Linked DNA regions of Homo sapiens: regions 2, 3 and 4 are each linked to region 1. The links are contacts of gene promoters, found by promoter capture Hi-C in human tissues and cell types (Jung and others, 2019). All regions are on one chromosome and are shown on one strand. The core of a region is centred on a gene start or on the middle of the fragment in contact, and the rest is flanking DNA. Distances in the headings are between cores, read along the strand shown. Region 1 holds the start of USP25 (ubiquitin specific peptidase 25). Region 2 has its middle 150 kb from the start of ASMER1. Region 3 overlaps ASMER1 (adipocyte associated metabolic related lncRNA 1). Region 4 overlaps ASMER1 (adipocyte associated metabolic related lncRNA 1).

Evidence for each region. Contacts are between HindIII fragments. The study calls those that stand out against the background at their distance.
Region 2: a fragment that was not itself captured here is called in contact with the fragment with the promoter of USP25 in region 1 in 1 of the 25 tissues and cell types used here (lymphoblastoid cells).
Region 3: a contact is called between a fragment that was not itself captured here and the fragment with the promoter of USP25 in region 1, in 1 of the 25 tissues and cell types used here (mesenchymal stem cells).
Region 4: a fragment that was not itself captured here is called in contact with the fragment with the promoter of USP25 in region 1 in 1 of the 25 tissues and cell types used here (dorsolateral prefrontal cortex).

Annotation. Positions count from the first base shown.
Region 1 is chr21:15,728,456-15,731,274 of GRCh38, reverse strand. USP25 (ubiquitin specific peptidase 25) reads right to left here and starts at 1,293. Exons shown (of 26, transcript NM_001283041.3): 1 at 837-1,293. The coding sequence starts at 881. RefSeq lists a silencer at 729-1,688. The HindIII fragment of the contact is 10,815 bases long and covers 1-2,819 here.
Region 2 is chr21:14,771,651-14,774,747 of GRCh38, reverse strand. It overlaps the pseudogene GAPDHP16. Among named protein-coding and RNA genes, the nearest start is that of ASMER1, 150 kb to the left of the region's middle. RefSeq lists enhancers at 188-357, 2,117-2,286. The HindIII fragment of the contact is 4,738 bases long and covers 1-3,097 here.
Region 3 is chr21:14,886,497-14,889,590 of GRCh38, reverse strand. All of the region lies in intron 1 of ASMER1 (adipocyte associated metabolic related lncRNA 1), which reads left to right. Among named protein-coding and RNA genes, the nearest start is that of ASMER1, 31 kb to the left of the region's middle. The HindIII fragment of the contact is 3,238 bases long and covers 1-2,936 here.
Region 4 is chr21:14,819,666-14,822,623 of GRCh38, reverse strand. ASMER1 (adipocyte associated metabolic related lncRNA 1) reads left to right here. Exons shown (of 4, transcript NR_146322.1): 4 at 1-2,958. Among named protein-coding and RNA genes, the nearest start is that of ASMER1, 98 kb to the left of the region's middle. The HindIII fragment of the contact is 3,318 bases long and covers 1-2,958 here.

The DNA.
Region 1 (2,819 bases), core at 44-2,543:
AACTACTCTTCAGAACATGGTGCAAGCCATGATAGTGCACTTAAGATTCTGAAAGCAAAATCTAAAATAGCAGAATGATCTCTATTCACTTTAAAGATATAAAGTTTCACAAACAGTTTTTTAATTGTTTTCTTTAGTGAGTGACCATTTGAATGTGTGACTGATGCAAGAGTAAAGGGTGAACGAAAGAACAAGGTCAAACTTAGGGGACAAAAGATTCCTGGAATAACATGGCCAGAAAGGTTTCCTCTCTTAGGGACAGTTTCTATATTGAAAAAAAAAAAAAAAAAAAAAAAAACAGAAAAGAAGAAGAAGAAAGGGAAACCTTAAAAGGAAAAGAAACCAAGCAAACCACCTACTTCTAGAGTCCACCTGGTCAACACGCCTGCCCCGCGAGGCAGGTAATTCGATTTTGGTGGAGACCGTTTTGCAAAATAGCAGGCCTGGTACACTACTACCTTTGAAAGACAAAATCGGTTCAGAAAGGATGACAACTAGCTATTCTTTCTCATTTAAGGGGAGAGAATAAAGTTTCATTAAGATGCCACACAGAGCACTGTAGGAATGTGAGGGTCGCTCTCAATACCTGGCACCGTCTGCTACGGGAAAACAATCGGCAGAAGGAAGTGGATTGAAGCCCGCAAACTACACTCTGCTTCCCACACGCAGCTGGGCTCTGGGCGCGACGCCCCCGAGGCGATGGGCAGGGGCCGGGGGTGACCGGGGAGGAAGCCCGGGAAGGCGGCGGCGGCGAGGCCGGGGCGCCCGGCCGCAGCGGGAGAGGACAGCCCGTCGGAAGGAGAAGTGGGGCCCGCCGGCTGGCGGACTCGCCTCACCTTCTGCGCCGCGCTCTGCTGCAGCACGTTCTGCTCCACGGTCATGGCCCCCGCGGCGGCGGCGGCGGCGGCGGCGGTGGCGCCCGGCTCCTCGCGCCTCCGCCGGCCCTGGCTGCCGCGCTCCGCCGAGCTCCAGGGAGCGGCGCGGACGGCCTGGGAGGACAGCGCCCCCGCCAGCCAGGCGCGAAGGCGATGGCGGCCGGCGTGCGCGGGCACCGCGGGCAGGCGGCGAAACGCCGACTGTGAGGGCCACGGCGGCCGCCTCACGTCTCCACGCGGCCCGCCTCAGCGCCGCTCGTCCGCGGCGGCCCGGGCCATGAGCGGGCGGAGGACGCCGGGGCACGGGAGAGCGCGAGCCAGTCGGGCGGCGTCACGCGTTCGCACGTTCCTTTGCTGCCGGTCCGCGGGCTGCTTTGGGGAAGGGAGAGAGGGGACGGAGGGAGCGGCCGCCCGGAATGGCGTTGTCCTCCTCCCTCCGCGAGTCCTCCTCCCTCCCCTCCCCCACGCGCCATCCCCGCCCCCGCCCGGCGGCTCCTCCCCCGCAGAGCCCCGCCCGCCGGCCGCCCTAACCCTACATTGTGACCCTCCGGGCGGCGGGGCGGGGCCGCCATGGAGCCCCGCCCCTCCCTGCGCGGGCCTGGCGTTCCCGGGTGGGGCGAGGGCGCGCCTGGCTGCCTGGCCCGGGAGCCGCCCCTGCGGCAGGTTGCGCGACGCTGGCGCTGGGCTTCGGGGAGCGCGACTGGAGGCCGGAGGGCAGCGTTCCTCCCTGCGCCCAGGGCTTGTCGGATCCCTAGCTTACCCAAAGCCTCCAAAGCAAACATTTCCCTCCATGCCCATAACGTCCCAAAACTGCGTAGGGTCCCGAACTCCGGCCCCTTTCTGTGTCACGCGTTCTCTCCCCTCGCCTTTCTAGGAATTTCACAAGCCTTGAACTTGCCTGAAGGGAAAAGTCAAATAAGCAAAGGGTTGCCAGAAATCTTTATGCTGGGAAGTACTTTTCTCCTTAACTAATCATTACGTAAATGAATATAGACATTTTCTATCTACCTTCATTCATTCGAATATGTGTCAGTCACTGCTAGGCTCTGGAAAAATAAAGTTTATCTTCCCAAGACTTAATATAAATGAAATAGGATCTATCTAGCAAACAACCTTACAAAAATATCACTGCCTAATGATACATAATTCTAATATCCCAGTTGCCAAATTAAGCAAACAATTAACTACCATGCATGGAATGCTTGACTATATATGGAATTGTAAGGAAAATCTAACATTAAGAAAGCAATCTCTAGCCACAAAAATATCTCGAGTTCCAGGAGCTAATCTGGGAACGGAGGTGAGAGTGCAGCAGTGTGAGGAGAGAAATTATCAATGCATATTGTCACAAATAGAATACACTTGAAAATCCGGGTATAATTTTTAATCCAATGACAAGGAAAGCAAGCTTGGCAAATGCTAATTGAAATAGTATGTGGTGTTATTTAATAATCATGGATTATAGTAGCTCTTAAGGCTTTGTAACAGTTCTGTGCACTTTACAACCATCTTTGTTCTGCAGCTCAGATGTCTGGTACCACCTGTTGTCACCTTTTCCTTGAAGCTTCATATTTGTTGACTCATTTGATATTTAACAAATTGCAAATCTTATTATATTAATATCCTATGTCTTTTCTAGAGGAAATGAAAAGTCATGAAACGGTTGGAAACAGAAATTTAGAAATACTGTCACATCTCTAATCTCACGTATCGATTTTTTTATAACTCTGAAGCCCAAGGAGGGTGACCTGTCAAAGAGAGCTTATCAAAACCCATTTTTCTTCATTTATAGATCAAAGTTTCTTCTTTTCTTGTTTATATGCTAACTTCATGTTTCTCCATATGAGGGTTTTGGTTTTTTGGTTTGTTTGTTTGTTTTTTAGAAATCAAGCTCATACATTTGAATTCAAGAAAATTAAATTTAACATAAAAATCTAGTAATCT
Region 2 (3,097 bases), core at 551-3,050, 960 kb after region 1:
GGCATTGCTGACAATCTTGAGGGAGCTGTCATACTTCTCATGGTTCTTGGAGTCTGGGAGGGAAACTGTGTTGAAGTTGGGAATATCAAAAATGTGAGGGCATCAGTAGAAGGGACAGATGTGATGACCCCTTTGGCTCCACCATTTAAGTGAGCCCCAGGACCAATGGACTCCACAACATATTCAGCACAGCATCAACCCATTTGATGTAGGCAGCATATGGCTTCTGGAAAATAGAGATGGCCTTCCCATTGTGGACAAGCTTCTTGTTCTCAGCCTCAACAGTGCCACTGAAATTGCCATGTATTAAATCATACTGGAATATGTACACCATGTTGTTTATACAATGAAGGAGTCATTGATGATGACTCTTTGTTGAAGTTTTAAAGCCGCCCTAGAGTCCAGGTGCTCTATGTGGACAAATCTGGTGACTTGGACCTTTACCATTATGTCTTAGGTATGTGCCTGGCACTTCACAAGAACACATGGCTGTTTGTGGAACAGAAAGGAGCAGAGAGCCAATTATCTTTTAAGAAACTTAAAAAAGAAGACAATCTCATTCTATATTTATTCATATATTTACCATTTTCGGTGCTCTTCATTCCTTTGTGTAGATTCAAGTTTTTATCTGGTATAATTTTTCTGTGCCAAAAGAAATTCTTTTAACATTTCTTTTAGTGCCAATCTGCTGGTGGAACGTTTTTGCAGCACAGGGTTATATGAAATCTTTATTTCATTTCTTTGAAGGGTATTTGTGCTGTAGCCCCAGGGTTTTAACCAGCAGAGGGTGCTGTGCCTCTCCAGAGTTTAGGATGAGGATAAGTGTTGAGGTGCTTCCAGCAGACCTCCCGGTTTTCAATGAAGCTGGAGTCCTAGTCTTGGCGCTGAATTTGCAGACAGCGTTGTTTCAACTTAAGGCTTGATGAGAAAAGACAGAAGCTGCTCTCCACAGCCTACTAGATAAATAAAAAAAAATATTACTAGGAAGTGGTAATAGTTTACTTGAAATAGATCAGTAGGAATTTATAGCGTTATTCAAATATTAATTGTTTTTTCCTAGCAAGAAGTTTACTAGTGTGTTATGGCTTAATTTTTGTTCATGAAAAATAATTGGTCTAGGTTTGCTTTCAGGATAAGAGATGTCTCTTTGTCCTCGCTAAAGCGGTACTTGACACTAATGTTTTTCTCTTGAAAATGCCCATAACTTTTTTCCACTTTCTTAGAAGTATGCAGCTATAGCCATTACGTTAGTGATTTGGACCTGGATTCCAGAGTACGTGGTCATTTGTCTGAAGATTACGTTCTACGATTAATTTCATTTTAATATATGAAGGTGATGCTTTGTTAAAAACAGAGAATCTTATACTCTGGTATGTTACAGAAAGAGGCTTCACACCTTTAGAAGCCCATGAAATATTTCACATACAGAAACAAACTTTGTAATGATAAGGTGATGACCTGTCCTTATATTATATAATAATACAAAAATTGTAGTGGATTTTGCCAGCATATTTGTTCATCATATACGGGAACTCATGAATGATGTTGTCACTTTTCTTCATTCTATGACAGAGGTTTTGCTTACTATATTTAGAAGACAATCACTATCAGAGGGGCAGTTGGCATAGTCTTTGGTAGACCTGGCTCCACTACATACTGGTTCTTTGGCATTGGTAAGGTATTGAATCTCTTTAAACATCAGTTCTCTTTTCTGTAACATTGGAGTAACCGTAGTATTTAGCTCATACAGTTATTGTGAGTTTCTTGAGATAATGTGTGGAAAGCACTCAGCACAGCATCTGTAACATTGTGACTCAATAAATGTCAAGGTTTATTTTAATTAACTTTTATGTTCTGTGAAAGAAATACATGATATTAAGCCACAATTATCATCTGCATTCTATGGATACTTCAGGAAGCATGGAGAGAATGCAAAGAGATAAACAGTTAATGATTTTCTAATGTAATGGAATATCCTAACTCTGATAAAGACAGAGTGCATATGATTTCTTGAGGAGTTTTCTGTTGTAAATGAAGACTGATGGTACAATGCAATAGAAAAGCCACTGGGTTTTTTATCAGGAAACTTTGCTTTATCTTGGCTGTATTACTTCCCACCACCTAAGTTTTGCAAAAACACCTGTTATCCTCTTTGGTCATAATTGGAAGATAAACCTCTTCTAGGGTTCCTTGACAGCAGTGGGAAAGTTTCTGATGCATTGTCTGGGAGGGTCACTGGCAGTCATGAATAGATGAGGTTATACTCCTGAAACAACTGGACTTCACCTGTTATGGACTGAATCATGTTCCTCCAAAATTCATATGTTGAAGTCTTTACCCCAGTACTTCAGAATGTGACTGTATGTGGAGATAACAATCTTAAAGAGGTAATTAAATGTCAAACGAGGTCATTGGAAGTGGACCCTAATCCAATATGACTGGCGTTCTAATAAGAAGAGGAGATTAGGACACAGACATACCCAGAAGACCAGGTGAAGACACCAGAAGACTGCCGTCTACAAGCCAAGGAGAGGGGCCTTCAGAAGAAGCCAACCCTGATGACAGTTTGAGCGTAAATTTCTAGGCTCTAGAACTGTGAGAAATAAATTTCTGTTGTCGAAGCCATCCAGTCTACAGTACTTCATTACAGCCGTGCTGAAAAACTAATATACCACGTGTCCCCTTTGCTCCAGGTCTCCTTGTCAGCATGACTTCTCTAAGAAACTGGGGACTCTACTATGTGGATCATGTTCATAAACTTATGAGTCCCTTTCATACTTCCCTTACATAAAAAGAGTTAAATCTATAATCTTTGTCTGCAAAATGAAAAACTGCTGGACTGAACTCACATTTGAAAGACTCCGTTTTCCTGTAAGTGCTGAGGTCTGACAATATGTCACGTATTAAAGTCTGCCAAGCTGTGGCAGTGGAGCTATCTTTTGGCTTTTCCCTGCACCATGTGAGCTAAGTTTCCTGTACATAGAAAGATCCTTCTGAAGCAGGAGCACAAAAGAAAGAGACAGGTACTTCTTTTTAGTTTCCAGAGGTTATGTAAATATTAGATCTTGCTGTCTTGTCTACAAGAAAAGTGAGTGTG
Region 3 (3,094 bases), core at 68-2,567, 840 kb after region 1:
AGGAAAGCTCCCTTCCTGCAAGTTCCCTGGTGGCAGGAGGAGTGATGGGGACTGTAGGCACCCTGCCGTTGAAGCTGTATTGTACCCTACTCTCAAAAGGCTTATAATTTTGCAAAGGTGACCCGTCATAGTTCACAAAAGATGAGAGAACAAGGTTACGGTGTGTGCACTCCATTTCTGTTCAGTACCTTTTGTTTCCTCTCTGGAGTTTTTCATGGGTCCAGCATCATCTGGCATCCCTCCAAGGCTGTGGTTTTATTTTTTTACTCGTTCTTGTCATAGAGGTTATATGTTGTAATTTGGACTTTGGTATGCAGTTCATAGTACAGCATGTGTTGTAAATACAGTCAACAAGCCTTTATTGAACAGAAAGTACTTTGAGCATTGTGCGAAGAGCCCTGAACTAAGTATTTTAGTTGGGAAAGATCATTGATTAATAGCATAGCTCTAATCTTCATGGGCTACAGATTGTCCTCCCTGTCAGCACCATGTTGGGTGGCAGGAGGTTGTGGACCAAAGCCTAGGAGAGTTTCAGACTAAACTTAAGCCAAAGCTTTAGACCCCCCACATGAGTCTAAAATCCCAGGTGGGTACCACAGATGAAGGCCCTAGGAACACAGATTGAGCCACAGGAATCAGGAAACAAACAAACAAAAAGCAGTTATAATTAGCAAGGCACAGAAGCAAGGTAAGGAAGCGGGTTTAAGGACCAGGAGATAGGAAAGAGTGAGAAGATCTCTGTAGTCTCAGAGCTGGTGATTCTGAGAGTCTGAAACCAATGTTAGCGTGACTATTTTTAGGTTTAGGAGAAAATAAGTATCCCTGGCTGGCTCAGGGATTGAGGGGCAGAGAATAGATTGCATCCTCGAGTTTCCTTTACAATTCTCTTGGCCCCCATTCGGTTTTAAATGGAAGCCACATTTTCATCAGAATATTTTAGATAAGCTTTCTTTGGAACTCATCTGAACTGTGACCCTGGCTGATAATCTGCCCTACACCTTAGAGCATTTTCTTTCTGAAACAGCAGATGTTTCTGAAGTAGTTTATACCATCACTCACAGACTGAGAATAATTGAGATAATGGATGTCAAACACTAAGCAGTGTGCCTGCCACGTAGTAACCATTCAATAAATGCTAGTGATGATTATCATAGGATCAGGTGCTCACCATTTCTTTTTCACTGCTTGCTCCCACAGAGTGTCAATCATGTGAGAGTCAATTGCTTGTGACTCACACATACTCCCTAATTATTTAAAAAATGCAGGTGAAATTACATTTCATTCCAACATCAGATTCCAGGAGTGCTATAGCTAATCTCTTCTCTTTGGCCTAAGCATACACTATACATGATTCTAATTTCTCTAGCTAGTTTCAGATCCAAGAAAGCATTTGTTTCTTCATTTTCAAACTTTTTAAAAGGGCAAGTGCATGGTGTATCTCTGTATTACTTATTATCAATTTTAAGCTTGGAGAGGTAAAAATCTCTATTCCTGCAGAGTTGATGGGGGCCTGTCAAGTTTCAATTCTCAGATTCTACTTGGCACAATCATCGGACTTTTTCCCCCAACCAGTATCCGAGCACCAAGACAAAGTTCATTTGTCTGAATTCTTGGGATTTCTCTTGGTTTCCTTTAAACAAAACAAAACAAAACAAAAACAAAAAAAACCATAGATACTGTGTTAAAAATTGGACAGTCTTCAGGAACAGCTGTTATTTTAATGGTCATAGTATATGTCCTCATCAGTCTCTGCTGTTTCACACCTTATTTTCTCCAGAATACTTAGATAAATTCCGTCTGGCCTGAGGGCTTTATTGCACTTTGCTTTCTTTGATTGCAGCAATATTTTCTTCACTGGAAGCTCTAATCTCTGTCATCCTTTTGAAAAACATTCTCAGAAATTAGAATTTCCCCATCACTTCCTAGAGTTAAGTGCTGCCAAAGAACCAAACAAAAACCCTCTCTGGGCTTTGGTTCCTCTAACCTTATCATTCCTTCCTGACCTCCTACATTAGCTTCCAGCAGTTTATATGCTAGTGAGTCTATTATCTGGCCAAGCTGGACTTCTACTTTAGAAGTCTGCATTTTGTGGCCAGGCGCGTGCTCACGCCTGTAATCCTAGCACTTTGGGAGGCTGAGGCGGGCGGATCACGAGGTCAGGAGTTTGAGACCAGCCTGACCAACATGGTGAAACCCCGTCTCTACTAAAAATACAAAAACTAGCCGGGCGTGGTGGGGGGCGCCTGTAATCCCAGCAGGAGAATCACTTGAACCCGGGAGGCGGAGTTGTAGTGAGCCAATATGGCGACTCCTTCTAAAGAAGTCTGCCTTTTATTCATAAATGCCTTAACGTTCTCTCTCCTCCTTCTAAAAGTGGCTCTGTTCAGAGCTTGTTTGTCCATTTGGACTATTTGTTTTGAAATATTCAGTTCTCCTTTTTCCTGGCTGTCTACTTTTAATAAGTAACCAGTTAATTTCTTGGATTGATATTTTGGGCAAGAAAAACTAGAGGATATTGAAGTTCGTTTTGGCCTTAGGAGTCTGTGATTCTGTAACTGTGTTCAGTTCATATCCTTTTATTACTTCTTTCCAAATGGTCTCTGTTAAGTGAGAATAGCGCCATTGGTATATTTTGCATCATAATGCTGGATCATCTCTGGATTTGGATGTTGGACCTGCTAGTGGCATGCTACTGGCGGAGTTGTTTAATTTCAGTTTCCTTGTTCATAGAATGGAAATAAAGAAATTATCTATTCCTTGATGTTATGAAAATTAACATATATTATACACTGAATTATAAAACAAAATAAGCTTAGAAGGTGCCTGGCACATTATAAGTGTATAATAACTGTTAGTATTGTATTATTACCCTTCGTACAGTAGATGTTAGGTTAGTCACAATATCAAATGCCACCTATCACAAAGCTGATGTCTTCAAAGAGGGTAGAACAATGTCATGCAGAGATAGGAAATGCACTTTATACAAATGTTAACAGGAGATTAGATGTATCTCACAATATTATCAAACATAAGCCATGATCTAAAGAAATGTGGGAGAAGCTTTTAGACTTAGAAGACATGAAAGCAAAAATAA
Region 4 (2,958 bases), core at 321-2,820, 910 kb after region 1:
AGTAATGATTAGCAGACAACATGGTAATTATATTGAAATATTACGTGAGTGCCAATAACAAAGCTTTCTGATCAAATGCTAAGAAATATGTTGTGTAAAGGGATCTCACATTTTTTATTGCGGCTTTCTTTCTACAATGTGACAAATTTCTGGGATATTTCATTATCTTCTTTTTGAATTTTTTTCAAGCAAGACTGTTCAGTATTATGTTAGCATTGATATAAAAAGAAGCAGACCATTGTTAACATTAAAATGTTACTGAGATTTCAAAGGTAGAGGACATTATCCTTTCTTATTTTTCTTTATGATACAGTATTTGTAACATAGTGCTTCTGAAATAGAAAGCACTTTTTGGAAAATAAGTTTAGTGAATAGCCAAATAATTTCTTACATATAACTTACAAAAGTAATACCATCTAGGCTAAGCTATTAAAAATATCAGTACATCAGTAACTACTCATTATATTGACCAACCAGAGCTTATCCATTTTTGGTCATTCTCATCTAGATATACACTTTCAGGCTAAAGAGAGATTTCCTTCCTTTTTCAATTGGTTATGAATAGAAGTCATCAATTTTTTTCTTACTTCCATCTTAATGGTTTGAAATAAAGAGTCAGATGCACGGCTTTTCAATTTCTTTTACTACTTTATTTTATTACTTGATTATTTTAAGGTCAAAAGATTTCCATTTCCAAAATACGTAATAGAAATGATAAAGCAGTAAAATTTGGACTTAAAATAATATGGACATTTTTCTTACAAGTGTCAACATGATTTACACATTATTAAAAAGGCAGTAAAATTTGAACTTATACAGCATAAACTTTACTTAAACTGTCAAATACATGGTTTTAAAGTTATTTTATTAATCTATCACTAATAATTATTTTTCTTATCAACAGAGAAAGTGAAGTTTCCTAAGCCATCACTAGAATTGGAAACACTAGATTTTATAAATTAATTTCTTTTCATTGACCTAAACTCCACATTTCTGCTGTGTTCATCTGAGGTCATGTCCATATAGTCAAATAGCTGAAGGAAAGGTGATATTTTTAGTCAAATCAAACTCCAAACATCATTTTTATCTAAATTATCTGGAGAATTGAATAAATATTTTTTTAAGGCTGTCTGTAGAAGAAAATTATGTCAATTTTTCATTTAGCTAGAGAGGTCCTGACCACAGTGTCTTCTGTTGAATTTCTCCTCAAGGTAGGATTCCAAAATACCTGGAAAATGTGAAACAGTGTTCCTCGTATGGGTAATGTAGCATCTTCACAAAAATTCTGTCATGATTCATTTGAAAAATAATACCTTCTCATGTCTAAAATAGTTTTTCATGAGAAATACATTCTATAAGAAAAAAACAATTGGCCTATCTTAGAGGAAAATGCTATTAAAAATTGTGTTATGGAAACAGGTAACATTTTCTTTATCTTTGTGAGTTTTTTCAACATAAATTTTGGTCAGAGAAATCATTTCAAAATAGAAGAGAGTCAGAAATAATCAGTACAGAAATGGTTTTGTTGAGAACTGTTAATTGAAAAGGCACCAAGTGAAGCCCTCATCTATGTTTGCATAAAAAACTGTTTTCATCCCTAAGAAGCTTGTAGCGTTTGGTGTTTCTAGAAAGCTACCGCAGAAGTGGTGCTGTAGGGGATAGTGATTTTTTTTTTTTTTTTTTTTGCCAACTGATGTTCCTTAATGGCAGCAGGCTTCTCAGAAAAAATGGAAAATTAATAATTCTATATAGCAAGTTCTACATATCATCACTCTATTCTCTAATACTTAGTGTTTAATGTACATAAAGAGTAGCCAATTGTGATATTAACAAACTTATTAACACCTGTTGACAAAGATCTTTGAAGACAAATCTACACGCAAGCTTTTGCCTTAGCGAACAACAGGAATAGTTTCCTTAAAAGGATACAGCTATTTTGAAATTTCCTCAACCATTGCATCCCAGTGGGGGGGATACTTACATGGTAGGACTGTTTGGCCAAAGTGCTTGAAGCATTAGGACACAACAAAGATAGTTTTGAAATGTTTTCTTGCTCAAAATACATTTGTTCTTAGGACACGGCTAGTGCTCATTTTACATTCCATGCCTGAAGTGTTTAAAACACTGTGGTACAGGTTTCTGATTCTGTGTTGGTCAATTTTGAAATCCATGTGTTAGTAGTAAGTGTGCTGATTCGTAGAGTGGGTAACTTCTGGGAACTCCCCTTTCTTTTATTGACAATTTCTTTGTAAAGCAAATGCTAATTCTACAGGCTATTAATAAAGACTGGAACTCCCTTGTTCATTAGACACGCAGTAGGAAAATGGGTAACATAGCTGTAGAAATATATTTGCAATATGTTCTCTTCGCACAATTTGCATATAAATGCCGCTTTCCCTATTTACTCAAATTAGCAATGTGTAATGGAGCACTCATAGCCTTTTTGTAGGTTCCTGTGACCTTTAATTGGCACTCATTTCAGACAATTGCCATTTTAGACATTGCTATCGCCATCTTTTGCAATTAAGTTTCAAAGTTATCATCATGGCATTTTTAATATTTAGAAATTTCTTTTTTTATCTCTGGCTTTCAGTTGAAGACTATTCACCCCGGTGGACTCATCATGTTGGGGACTTTCAATTGCTACTTTAAAAAGAACGCTTCACTGAAATAGGTCTCATCCCATCAGGAACATAGAAAAACAAGCAGCAGGCCGGGCGCGGCGGCACAGGCCTATAATCCCAGCTACTTGGGAGGCTGAGGCAGAAGAATCGCTTGAACCCAGGAGGCGGAGGTTGCAGTGAGCCGAGATCGCGCCACTGCACTCCAGCCTGGGCGACAGAGAGAGACTCTGTCTCAAAAAAAAGTAAAAAAAAAGAAAAAAAGGAAAACAAAAGAAAAAAGAAAAGCAGTTGTTTATCTTTTGGCTTAAGCCAAAAGAACCTCAAATGAAAGAAA